Regions from separate parts of the Homo sapiens genome. Here regions 2, 3 and 4 are each linked to region 1. Evidence: promoter capture Hi-C in 16 types of primary human blood cells and fetal thymus (Javierre and others, 2016). All regions are on one chromosome and are shown on one strand. The core of a region is centred on a gene start or on the middle of the fragment in contact, and the rest is flanking DNA. Distances in the headings are between cores, read along the strand shown. Region 1 holds the start of LINC01341 (long intergenic non-protein coding RNA 1341). Region 2 overlaps AHCTF1 (AT-hook containing transcription factor 1). Region 3 overlaps AHCTF1 (AT-hook containing transcription factor 1). Region 4 overlaps AHCTF1 (AT-hook containing transcription factor 1).

Region 1 (3,198 bases), core at 381-2,880:
TATAAGGTCTGAATTTATACGGCGAGGGCGCAGAAACAGATCAAAACGTACCCGGAGTAGGTGAGGCTCGTTAAGAGTCGCCTCCTGAGCGTCTCTTCTGAAGCTTGCTTGCTGCCATCTTCCCACCACCCCATCCCGCTGGCCTGGGAGCGGGAGGACTCCAGTGTGGCCTTGGCCGGCTCCCCGCAGTGCTAGGCCCTCAGCTGGTGTTCGTTCTGTTAATGAAGCCCTTGCCTGCTGTCTCCCAGCTCCCCGTGCTCCCCAAGGGCAGGGTCCTTCTGCGCCCGCTGCTGTCCCCATGCATCATGGGCCACAGCACACAGGAGGCCCCGAGATGCCACCTGCCATCCTCCGCAGCTGTAGACCTTCCCTCCTGTGCACATGAGAAAGGTCAGCCTACCTGCTCACGGAAACCGCCGTTTGCTGGGTGTCTTTGACTCTCATCTTCTTAGAATTTCAGATAAACACGCTTCCTTCACAAATGCCGACGGTAAAGTGACGGTCACTCCACATAGCAAATGCAAGGTTGCCGTTAACGGGGTGCCCATCACCACCAGGACAAAGCTGCAGCATTTGGTAAACTTTCCTGCAGGCTCACAGAATGTCCTAGGTCCCCCCCAAGAGCTGGGAGGGGACAGTCATGTGAGGTGCCCACATCACAGACGTGGCAGGATGGGGCGTTCACACCAGCTCCTCTGCCACCATGGCTTGGGGACAACATGGCACCACTGCTGGAGGGACAGGCCTGCTCCTGACTCACTGTGTGGTCTTGGGCAAGTCACTTCACTCCTCTGACCTCACCTGGAAAACAAGGAGGGCTGAACTAGGTGTTCTCCAAGGTCCCTTCCAGCTCTAACATTTTGTGCCATTTTAGATTTTTCTAAGAGCCTGTCACTGAGAGGGGTTGAACAGCATCTTGCAAACATCGCTGCCTCTTCCTCCCCAATCTGCCAACCCTGGGGCCCCTGCCAGCTTCCCAGCAGCCCTCTCCCCTCCCTGGTGGCCACAGCCTTTCAGACAGGACAGGCAGATGGGGATTGGCCGCTCCCCATTTGGAAAGCCCCCTCAGTGACCTCCCTCGGCCTCCTGTCCCTGGCCACACTGCCCTTCTTTTGGTTGTTCAGCAGCCGTCTCTGCCTCACCAAGACTTACCGCCCAGGAGGGCTTAGCTTGGGCATCACGCCTCGGAAAAGGCCGTCTGTAGCCTGTAGTCTGAGTTAGGTCCTGGTGTCCCCTGCAGCCATTGCTGCACTCACCCAGACCAGCCTGGAAAGCGTGGAGGGAGGGCCTGGCTCTGGGTGGTCCCCACAGAACCCCAGGGCCAAGGGAGTCACGCCCTCAATGTGTGCAATGAAGGTGAACGCAGGAGCCAGAGGCCACCTCCCTCCTGTCTGCGTCTCTCCCTGTCTGGGGGATTCCTGAGGGGAGGACATTCCTCAGATCCTTCTCACTGGGGAGGTTCACCTCACCCTCCTTGGCCTCGAACCCCTCCTGAGCCCACCGTCTCCTCCCCAGGACCGCCTGATTTTGGGATCCAACAGCACCTACCTGTACGTGGGGTTTCCTTCGGAGTGGGGCAGTGAGGACCTGAGCAGGTTCGATTACGACTTCTTCCAGCTGGAGAGGGCGGCTGCGGAGGGAGCGAGTGCAGACAAACTCGGTGAGCCCCCTCCTGACTGCTGGCCTCTCCCGTGTGCTGATCTGAGAGCAGCGATTTCACACTGTGTCTCTCTGCTTTCCTTAAGAACATCATCATTTGTTTTGTCAAAGTCTGATGTTTACAAAATTGAATTATGATTTCCATATAGAGTGACTACATGGTAAACATTCAACTCGTTAAACGTTCCCTGAGGAATGAGGGTAAAGATGGTTCAAAGGGGTAGAGAAGAGAGTGGGGTACCCAGCAAATGAGAGAAGAATGCTGAGCTGGAGAAGCCAGTTAGTGGCCTCCGGCCGCCCCCAGGGGCCTGCTGGGCCTGCAGAAGCAGTGGCCCAACTCCAGAGGGGCCGGCTGGGGCCTGCTGTGGGCTGCAAATGCGCGGCCCGGAAGAACGTGCAGCCCGAGGCCTCTGAGACAGAATCTCCCCTCCTCGCCCGAACGCAGCCCCCAGCAGTAGCCCACGCGGGCCGCCCGCCGCTGCCGGTCTCTGCTGGGGCTTTCGCGCGCCTTCCCCGCCCCTCTCCCCGCCCCGATTCACCGCGCTCCGGGCGGCTCCCCCAGAATCCTGGCCAGGCCGGAGCCCGCTGCGATCTGAGTGACCTGCGGGCTTCCCGGAGGGGCCCCACGCTTTGCTCGGCACCGGGACTCTGCCTGAACTCGCAGTAATGAAACCGCTGGTGGAAAGTGGGCAGATCCACCTGTGTGTGTGCAAGAGCTCCTCCCTGTCCCCACACCACAGTGTTTCTCTCAGAATTTCAGCAAAATAAATCGATTAGAAATTCACCTCCTTGCTCTTCTTCTGCTGAAGTTTTCGACTTTTAAAAATGAACAAGGCCGGGCGCGGTGGCTCACGCCTGTAATCCCAGCCCTTTGAGAGGCCGAGGCGGGCAGATCACGAGGTCAGGAGATCGAGACCATCCTGGCTAACACAGTGAAACCCCGTCTCTACTAAAAATACAAAAAAGTAGCCGGATGTGATGGCACACACCTGTAGTCCCAGCTACTCAGGAGGCTGAGGCAGGAGAATTGCCTGAACCTGGGAGGAGGAGGTTGCAGTGAGCTGAGATCGTGCCACAGCACTCCAGCCTGGGTGACAGAGCGAGACTCCATTTCAAAACAAAACAAAACAAAACAAAACAACGAACCAGTAAGACTCTGTCATACCAGGCCCGGAAAAGCCATCTGTTCATTGACCTGTCCTCAGAGGTTGACCGTGCCACTGCCCCTGTGGCCCTGGTGGCGCCATGAAGCTGAACCAGCCCCAGACCCTGGCTCGGACCCTAGGGAAGACTTGGGTCCCCAACAAGGCAGCAGCTGTGTGAGCAGTTTGGGGTCAGACCTCAGGGCCAAGGGCACTGTGTGCACCCACAGGCCAGGGGTCTCTAAGAGTTGAGATTTCCTGATTAGAGGCAGTACCAGCCTGGGTTTGGGAGGGAGATTGATCCTCCCATAATCTCCACGAGCCCCTCCTTCAAGCCACCCCAAGTATAAGAGAAGCACAGGTCACTTGCTGTGCCAGCAGCAGCTTGAGGATACCT
Region 2 (3,198 bases), core at 231-2,730, 110 kb before region 1:
TTTTTCTCTCTCCTTTCTCTTTGTATTTGTATGTGTAGCTGACCAATGACTTAGTAATGTTTTAAATTTTCTTTTAGGTCAGGAGAATATCTACATAATTGCTCTTATTTTGCACTGTGGTCATTGGAGTCTGTTGTAAGTAGGACTTCTCCACATGGCATCTTGGATATATTAGTACATGAGAGAAGTTTAAATAGAGGAGTCCCTCCTTCATATCCACCTCCCGAGCAGTTTTTTAATCCAAGCACTTATAATTTTGGTATGTATTTCCTTAACATTACCTCTTAAGAAAAGTAATGCACAAAAGTATGTAAATGTATACGTTGTGTAGTTTATTCATTTAGTGTTATCTGTTTGTATCTCACTGTTAGTTAACATATGGATAACTTAGGAAATTAATATATACACACAAGAAACTTAGTATTTATATGTTTTATAAAGGAATTATGACTTGGAGATATTTAGTATTTATATGTTTTATAAAGGAATTATGACTTATTTTGAACTTGCTAGGAAAGATATTAACTGTTTCACATCTGGTGCATTTTATAGTAGCTTTTATTTTTTTTGCTGTGTTTCTCAGCTGTGCTTGGAGTTTTTTGGGTTTTGTTTTTTGCTTTTTTCTTGTTTTGCTGTGTAATAGGTTTGTTATCTATTCTTAGGATGAAAATACCTAGAAAAGTTTATTTAAAGATTTATTACATGTAATAATTTGACACCTTGCCTTGCAGTCTGTTATTGGATAAATTTTGTTCTATTAATGCCATTTTAAATATATGTAAGTGGATTATTTTTTAAATCTTTTTTTTAGATGCCACTTGTTTGTTAAACTCGGGAGTTGTTCATTTAACTTGTACTGGCTTTCAGAAGGAGGTAGGTAACAACTAGTGATTTCTTAATTGAACTGAAGTCAGATCTTAGAATATAGTTGATTTATGGATTTAAGTTTTACTTAGTGATATTGACAGTTGTTTCAGCTTAAATGGTAGCTTCTGCTAGGTTTATGAGATTATCAACTAGTAGTATCAGTTACTAATGACAGCCTGCCGGAAGACGTATTGTATGTTTTTAGCAACTAATTTATGTAGATGCTAGCTACGTGAACCTCAAGCTTTCTGTCTCCTCAGAAAGCTTATGAGGAAATGAAGTAATGCAAAGAAGGCACCTAGCACAGTGGTATAGTGCCTGGCACAGGAAAAAAAAAAAGAATTTTGAAAAATACTTTTCTCTTTTTGAGACGGAGTTTCGCTCTTGTTGCGCAGGCTGGGGTGCAGTGACACCATCTCGGCTCATTGCAACCTCTGCCACCCAGGTTCAAGTGATTCTTCTGCCTCCGCCACCTGAATAGCTAGGATTACAGGTGCTCACCACCACGCCCGGCTAATATTTTGTATTTTTAGTAGAGATGGGGTTTCACCATGTTGGCCAGGCTGGTCTCGAACTCCTGACCTCAGATGATCCGCCTGCCTCGGCCTCCCGAAGTGTTGGGATTATGAGCGTGAGCCACCGTGCCTGGCCTGAAAAATGCTTTTCTAGGGAAGTATGATGTGGCAGACCTTTTCATTGATAATCGTCCAGATGTGGATGAATGCTGTATTTATACTTAATATCAAATCTCTTTCACATTAGATAAAGAGGAGTAGACTGCAGGAGTTTTCCTGTGTGTGTGTGTGTGTGTGTGTGTGTGTGTGTGTGTGTGTGTTTTGTCAAGATGTCACCAAATCTGTCAGCTTTAGAGAAGACAGCAGGGTTATACAGTTCATAAAAATATATAAGCTACCTTTTGCTAATAGTAGTATTCACAACTAGCAAGCATTGGTTAAGCTTAAGAACCTATAAACTCTGTTTCTTGCAGGAAATATAGTCTTTCATAATTTCCACTTGCTATCTTTAAATTTTACTTAAATTTTAAGTGTAATTAATTAATCTTAAATTTGATTATTCAAATTGAGCATTGATTGATGCCTTACTAATTTATCTGTTACAGACTTTGACTTTTTTAAAGAAATCAGGTCCATCACTCAATGAACTCATTCCTGATGGTTATAATCGATGTCTTGTAGCTGGCCTTCTTTCCCCAAGATTTGTTGATGTTCAGCCTTCCAGTTTAAGCCAAGTGAGATGATTTTTAACTCTATTGTTTCTTTTGGTTGGATCACGTTATTAGCTTTCTATTACAGTAAAAATGTATTAGATAATTTCTGCAAAAATAGGTGAAGTAGTGTAATGCTGACTCTGGGTGATCAGCAGTTGTGGTCTTAGGTTTGGTTTAAAATTCCTATTCCTAATACCCAATAGGCCATAACTTGGCAGCAGGTTGACTTAGCTGTATAGAAGGATACAGGACAGGAAACACCTCATGGCTGCCTCAGGCTGGAATGCAGTGGCATGGTCATGGCTCACTGTAGCCTCAACCTCTTGGGCTTAAGCGATCTTCCCACCCCAGCCCCCGCAAGTAGCTAGGACTACAGACAGGCACAACTATGCTTAGCCCTTTTTTTTTTTGGTAGAGACAGGGTCTCGCTATGTTGCCTAGGCTGGTCTTAAACACCAGGCCTCAAGTTACCCTCCCACCTTGGCATCCCAAAGTGCTGAAATTACAGGCATGAGCCACCTTGCCCAGCCTGTAATAATGTATTTTTACTGTACCTTTTCTGTGTTTAAATACACGTATACTTCATATTGTGTTACAGTTGCTTACAGTATTCAGCACAGTAACATGCTATACAGGTTTGTAGCTTAGGAGCAATATACATAGCCTTGATATGTAGTTGACTACACCATCTAAGTTTGTGTAAGTACGCTCTTACCATGATTGCACAACAATGAAACACCTAACGAAACATTCATCGGAATGTATCCCCATCATTAAGCAACACATGGCTATATGGAAAAATGCAATTCATTTTTGTATATTTATTTGATATCTACATAACTTTCAAGGTGTGCAACCATCAGCAAATAATAGACTTTTTTCGTTTATTTGTTTGTTACTACCTTTATTTTTTTTGAGACAGCATCTCGGTCTGTTGCCCAGACTGGAGTGCAGTGACGTGATCTTGGCTCACTGCAACCTCCAACCTCCTGGGTTCAGGTGATTCTCCTGCCTCAGCCTCCTGAGTAGCTGGAACTAGAGGCGTGTGCCACCACACCCGGCTAATTTTTTATTTTTAGTAGAGACAGAGTTACACCATGTTG
Region 3 (3,198 bases), core at 304-2,803, 82 kb before region 1:
TCCCTTTGCTATGATGCAGGAGAAATTGACTAGTGTATTGTCTCTAGTATATTTATTATTGGGACGGATTCTTTCCCTTCACTGTGATGCAGGAGAAATTGACTAGTGTATTGTCTCTAGTACATTTAGTATTGGGACGGATTCTTTCCCTTCGCTATGATGCAGGAGAAATTGACTAGTGTATTGTCTCTAGTATATTTAGTATTGGGACGGATTCTTTCCCTTTGCTGTGATGCAGGAGAAATTGACTAGTGAATTGTCTTTCCAGAGACCATCAGCCACAGTAATAAAAGGGACTAAACAGCACAGGGAGAAAGAGTCTATTTTTTTATATGGTGATTTATCACCGGTTAAGATTTTTTTCTTTTACAGAAGAGTAATGAGTATAGAGAGTTCTATAAGGGAGAAAGTTTGAATATATCAAGAGTATGGCAAGGGCACATTTACTTAACATGTAATATCCCTTCCCCAGAAGAGAAGCTTGAGATCAGAGACTGGCTTATAGGAATAAGTCGAACCTAGTAGCGCCTGATCTGAGGGCTCTGGTGCAGGATTCACTCAGGAATGATGGCTTTTAGGGTCTGAGCCCCTGAAACTTAGGAGAAGAGTGAGTGCTTAATAATACATGGTCCAAACAGTTTAGTTGGTCTGGAGGCGATTTGGATTTTTGAGTCTTAAGGTGAACCCGGTCTCTAGGTTAATATGGGTGAAGCTTAACCTCAGTGGGAACTAGAAGTTTGTGGTTTCACATGTTTTAAGAGTTTGTATTTTTAAAAATCTACAGCATGTTTTACTGCCCTCTTGGTCTCGACAGCAGCACACTTCGAAGGTTCAATCATGCCAAGCAAGCTCTTCTATATAGTGATTGGAAAGGGCCAAGTCCCATTCCCTTTCAGCACCCATGATAGTGCGATGGGAAGGAGCTTTAGTCAGTTTTTGAGTTTCCTGGCATAGTTTGGCTAGCGTGATCCTTATGTTTTATTACTATGCTTGACCTTTTTAGATGAATGAGGTTTCTTAAGTTATGTGTAACCTCCTCTATTTAATTTCCAAGGCAGAGGACACCCCCTAAGTAACTTTGTAAATGAAGGCAGTTCTGTTGTCACTCTGGATTGGTTGGAGTAAGCCAGAACCTCAAGATGATGTCTTTGAGTAAAGCTCTGACCACCTCATTTGTCTTTTTGTGTGTGACAAGGGTGTATCCCTTTTATTTAGCCAGTAAAGGTGTCTACACTAGTAGGTACCTGAAGTTTTTGGGTCCTGGGGCATCACTGTAAAGTCTTCTTGTCAGTCTTTTCCTGGCGTGCCACCCCAGCTGGACAGCTTGGGTTAGTGGAGTCACAAGGGAGCCCGATCTGAGTATTATTTTGTACAAATTGGAGACACCTGTTAGATCCTTGATCTGTTTTATCTTTTAGATCAGGTATCTTTAGTAACTAATTGCGTAAGGTTTGTTTTGTTTTGTTATTTACCATAATGTGATGATCTATGACCATATTTAGTTAGAGACCACCCTAGGTTTTTGGGAATCTAGGTTCTTTTTTTTTTTTTTTTTTTGTCATTAATAGTTCATCTTTCTGAATCTAAGTGTGGAAAATACCCTTTGCGTTTGGCTTTAACTCCTGAGGTGAACACTGAGGCTGGGACTTGTGGAGTAGGATGTCTGGGATCAGGGTCATTTGTAAAGTTCACATGTTTGTGTTGTCTTTTTAGTAGCTGTGTCTTTAGGTTGTTATTATTTTTTAATAACCTCAAATTTTTATTTTTTATTTTTTTGTGACCCTGGCAGTAGGCCACTGCTACCCTTTTAGGTAGCTATACTGCTGCCTCTAATAGCTGTAATGTTTTTAATATTATTAACCTCCTTATAGTCTGCAGTCAGGAGGCCTCAAAAAAAAATGCACTGTAGGCATGGATTACAGAGAAAGCATACTTAGAGTCTGTGGAGACATGATGGCCTTAGCCTGTCCTGAAGATGAGGCTCATCTAGTCAGGGTTCACAGAGGTAGGCTGTTAGCCTCTTTAACTCCAAGTGAGGACAGCACTGTATACCTTGTTTTTCTGGGCCCCTTTCTGTGATGTTACTCTGATTTACGAAGAAAGGCTTTGTTAACTTGAGAGTTCTGAAAGGGTTTGTTTTTTAGGTCCTTTTGACTAGAATACATTTTATCAGTAGTGGTTGAGTATTTGTGTGGGAGCAGTTCCTGGGAGGTGGAAAGAAACATGGCAGGGTTAAGTAAGGATCTGGCACACCTTGATGTGGCTGCCTCTTAATTTAACTTTTTATTGTAACATCCTCCCATCAGTAAGCGAGTGGTGTCTCTGTTTTTAGCACTCTGGATAACTGAGGACCTAGACCATTAATGTCTGAGTCATGGTTTGTTTTTAAGCTTTTCTCACTAATAGGCAAGTAGTAACCACTGTCCTAAGACATGGGGGCCTTTTGGTGGCCACCATGTCAAGTTGGTTAGAAAAAAATGAGCCACCACCTTTTTTAGTGGTCCTAGCATTTGGGTAAGTGCTCCCCTGGCTAGCTGTTCCCTGCCTTTTATGAGACAGATAAGTCAAAAGGTTTGGCAACTTAAGCAAGGCTACAGTGGGAGCGCAGTCACTTTTTGTTTGCTTGGTTGTTTTTAGTTTTTCGAAGGCTCAGTTGTATTGTTTGTCTTCTTTAAAAGGGTCTGACTCCAGCTCTTGTAGCTTTTTATAAAAAGGCTTTGTTAAAATACCCGAATTGGGAATTTATATGTGACAGAATCCGGCCATTTTCAAGAATTTTTGGTTCTGAGGAGGAGGTATTTGATACACAGCCATTTTCCTGTCCTGGGAAGGACACCCCTGTCCCTGAGAAATTAAATAGCCTAGGGCTTTTTTTTTTTTTTTTTGAGGTTTTATACCCTCTTTTAGCTAGAAAGTTTAGGGTACAGTATTTATACTAGATTCCTCTTTAGAGGAGCTAGTAATTAAAATATTGCTTACATATTATACTTTTCTCTTTTAAATGTAAAATTCCTATAATCCCTGGAGACCCTCTATCTGTTTACACTTTATCATTTCAACACTGTAGATTCTGTCTCAAGAAACCACTTGTTTGCCTATCTGTAAGAAGCAATTCCTCATTTATTCATGTTTTATCATGAGATTACAGCAATTCATCACATCTTTAGTCTGTTTTTGTTTTTTTAAGAGACAAGGTCT
Region 4 (3,198 bases), core at 487-2,986, 66 kb before region 1:
AAATATACAGAGACACGGTAAATTGAGGCAGAACTCTGGTGATTCTGTTTTTGTTGAAGACCAAGATTTCGCTCACAGCTGTGCATACCTCCATGCCCTCTGCTTTCCAGTGGTTTCAGGATGATCAGGCACAAGACTCTTGTAGGTAGACACAGTAGAGCACAGGGGAGATGACAGACAGTTTTATTTCCTTCCATTTGTTCAATACATGACTCTAAGTTTGTGTTTTTTAACGACCATTTGAAACATACTCCCAAATAATTTTCATTGACACTTTACCAGATGACGTATTCAAAGTATGGTCAAGCAGATTGGTGAGAGTGTCAGTTTATGTTCTGCAACAAGATAAACAGCCTGCCTTGGAATATAGATAAGTGCACTGCCTCCTTTACGGAAAGTCAGCTGTACTAATCAGTATGATTAGTGAAGCAATTGATTCACCTTCTGGCAAGAGGTCCTTGTCTCATTGCGAGACTGACACAGATTGCATGTCCGCACTTTTGAATAACACCGTTGTAGAGGATACAAAAAAGGGACAGCTTCAGTTATCAAGTAGTAGTAAGGGTGATTCAGTAAAATTAACCGACACAAAATATAACTTACAACATTATAAATGGTTCGTTACTTTATACATAATGAAAGGGACTTACCAGACCACCTATACAATTCAGTATCATGATAGTCACCCCTTGTACCTTGAACTAAATCACATGCTTTACGCCTGAGAAATCTAGATTAGCTGGAATTTTTGCCAGGCCTGCATGGAAAAAGTAGAAGCCAGTATGAAAGGATTATCCAAATTATTTTTTCATTGTAATGTTTTTTGAATTTTAATGAAAACTAATGTTATTTATTGCAATGGCTTTCATGGATAATTGCAAAGCAAAGAGCAGTCGCATGAGAAGGAATCACATGAGAGTTACCAGCATGAGAAGGAATCACATGAGAGTTACCAGTGAGAACCTGGGTGCATATTCACTATCTTGGCTAACTAGTTCCTTTTAAAATATAAGCTTATTTGATATTTTGTGGTGATGTATCACTGTTACTTTTATGGTAAAATCTATAAATGTTTCAAATACCTTTTTATTGAATTTACTTTCAAATACTATTTGTTGTAATTTTCAAAATTAGCATGCTTTAATTGGGTTTTGAGAAAGGTCAGATTAGAATATTAAAGGAACACTGTCATCATATTCCAGGATTTATTTTCATGTGGATTAATACAGGTTTCATTGGTCTCTTATTCTGAGTCATTTATCATACTTTTTCTAGGTAGCATTAAAATATTGAACCTTGCCTCTACTGAGTTCATAGAAAATATTCCAGAATACTTGACAGACTTATTTGAAGACTGGCCACAGATTATTAAAAATTGGCTTAAATATAATGTATACTGACAGGCATTTTAAAATCATTTCATTTCTACTTTAAGGCCATGCCATTGTTGCCAAAAGAGTAAAACATTAGAAAATGGGTAAAACAAGTACAGCATTGTTTCTGAATTCACTTTTAAATTTTATATTATTGTTCAGAATGAGCTTGAGTTGTATTGAATTCTCTGAACCTCAGTTTACATCACCAAAATGACAGGTTAGGTGGTAGGACTAAAGCAGGTTAAAGCAGATGGGATCTTCTTACACACTAAGGTATGTATTTCTTTTTCTAAAGGAAAATCTTCACCCAGAAGTCCAAGGTACCAGTGTTGGACGAAGGATTAACATCTGTTGAAACCTACACCCCTGCAATTAGAGCAAATGACAATAAATGTATGTATAATAATTTTGACTTCAGGATTATTCCATTTTTGTGTTTTGAGTGAAGAGTTTTCTGTTCTTAGAACAAAATAATCTATTGTGTTATTCAGATTTTTCCTCCTCAGTTATTCCTCTCTCTGGTCAGCTTTCCTGGTGTAGAAGTATTCTAAGGAGATATATAAGCTGTCAGACAGTGGGTTGCTTGTAAGGCATTCTGTGGCTCTAATATTCAAAGTCTTAGATTACTAGTCCACAGCCAAATGCATCCCTGCCGTTTGATCTTCTTGGACTCAGAAGAGTTATTTCGTGTTTGTTTGTGATAACTTAAGGCCAAGGTTGACTTTTCATTATTAGAAAATAATCACAAATGACTGAATATTCTCCAGGGAAATTAACAAATATATGGAATTTTTTTTTTAATCCAATGAGCATTTTTGTGAAGGCCTATTCTCAGTTAGGCCCTGGCTATACAGAGATGAGGAAGATAGGATTTTCTTAAGGAGCTTACAGTTGGATTCAGGGGAAGCAGACACCTTGAATGTCTATGCCCAGAATTGGTCTGATCATCTTGTGTCTATTAACTCATTTAATCCTCACAGCACTATACTATGACATAGTTGTTATCTGACTCTAGAGCCCATGCTCTCAACTGTTATGCCTTTGTTCCTGGTACATTATGAATGGGGTATACGGCAAGCTTCAGCAGACTAGTTTTTGTCCCATGATTAAGGTAATACATGATTATGGAGTAATCCAGAGAGAATTGTCTAACATGTAAAAAGCCGATCACCCATTTTAGGGGTCCATAATTAACCATTTAAAGTGTCTTTCCTGAATTTTTGTTTTCTGTGCCCATTTCTCCCGATATGTTGGAAGAGGAGACAAGACGGTGCCTGAAGAGTGCAGGGGGCTGAACCCGAATGTGTGGGTTCCTAACCCAGTTCTGCACTTCCCAGTTCTGCACTTAAGGGCTGTGTCTCTATTTTTTTTTGTTGGTAAAATATTAATAGTTTTAAATGGGAATATTAATAAGACCCATTTCCTAGAGTTGTCAGGATTAAGCCCCTTGCATGTAAAGTGTTTTGTGTAGCGCTTGGTACCTGAAGTTTAGTAAATGTTAGCTGTTAGAAATGATCATTATCAAAAAAGCAACTTTCTTTTCTCATGTAATATATTTAAGACATTTTTTCTGTCAGGAATATAGATTAATCCTGTTCTTTTTAACAGCTCTAATAGTGTTTTGTAGTGTAGATGTTACATGCTTAACTAATTGCTTATTGCTGAACATTTGGGCCAATCACCATTTTGGGGTTTGTTTTGCTGTTTCTGCAGTGAATATTCTTGTGCACATTACATTCTATGTCAGTATTTCTTTCGGGTAGATTCCTAACCATGGACTTGTTGGGTCCAGAAGTATGTACAGATTTTTTTTTTTTTTTTT

Evidence for each region. Contacts are between HindIII fragments. The CHiCAGO score rates a contact against its expected background, and 5 or more counts as called.
Region 2: a contact is called between a fragment that was not itself captured here and the fragment with the promoter of LINC01341 in region 1, in 1 of 17 cell types (megakaryocytes). The highest score is 5.2, in megakaryocytes.
Region 3: a fragment that was not itself captured here is called in contact with the fragment with the promoter of LINC01341 in region 1 in 1 of 17 cell types (megakaryocytes); the score reaches 6.2 in megakaryocytes.
Region 4: a contact is called between a fragment that was not itself captured here and the fragment with the promoter of LINC01341 in region 1, in 1 of 17 cell types (megakaryocytes). The highest score is 6.9, in megakaryocytes.

What each region holds. Positions count from the first base shown.
Region 1 is chr1:246,788,049-246,791,246 of GRCh38, reverse strand. It overlaps LINC01341 (long intergenic non-protein coding RNA 1341), which reads right to left and starts at 1,630. Exons shown (of 2, transcript NR_015422.1): 1 at 1,549-1,630; 2 at 1-801. RefSeq lists a silencer at 2,310-2,389. The HindIII fragment of the contact is 6,171 bases long and covers 106-3,198 here.
Region 2 is chr1:246,897,126-246,900,323 of GRCh38, reverse strand. AHCTF1 (AT-hook containing transcription factor 1) reads left to right here. Exons shown (of 36, transcript NM_001323342.2): 10 at 78-259; 11 at 812-873; 12 at 1,988-2,116. Among named protein-coding and RNA genes, the nearest start is that of AHCTF1, 33 kb to the left of the region's middle. The HindIII fragment of the contact is 693 bases long and covers 1,134-1,826 here.
Region 3 is chr1:246,870,411-246,873,608 of GRCh38, reverse strand. The region is part of intron 24 of AHCTF1 (AT-hook containing transcription factor 1); the gene reads left to right. Among named protein-coding and RNA genes, the nearest start is that of AHCTF1, 60 kb to the left of the region's middle. The HindIII fragment of the contact is 1,678 bases long and covers 715-2,392 here.
Region 4 is chr1:246,854,301-246,857,498 of GRCh38, reverse strand. It overlaps AHCTF1 (AT-hook containing transcription factor 1), which reads left to right. Exons shown (of 36, transcript NM_001323342.2): 31 at 1,672-1,769. Among named protein-coding and RNA genes, the nearest start is that of LINC01341, 66 kb to the right of the region's middle. The HindIII fragment of the contact is 1,441 bases long and covers 1,016-2,456 here.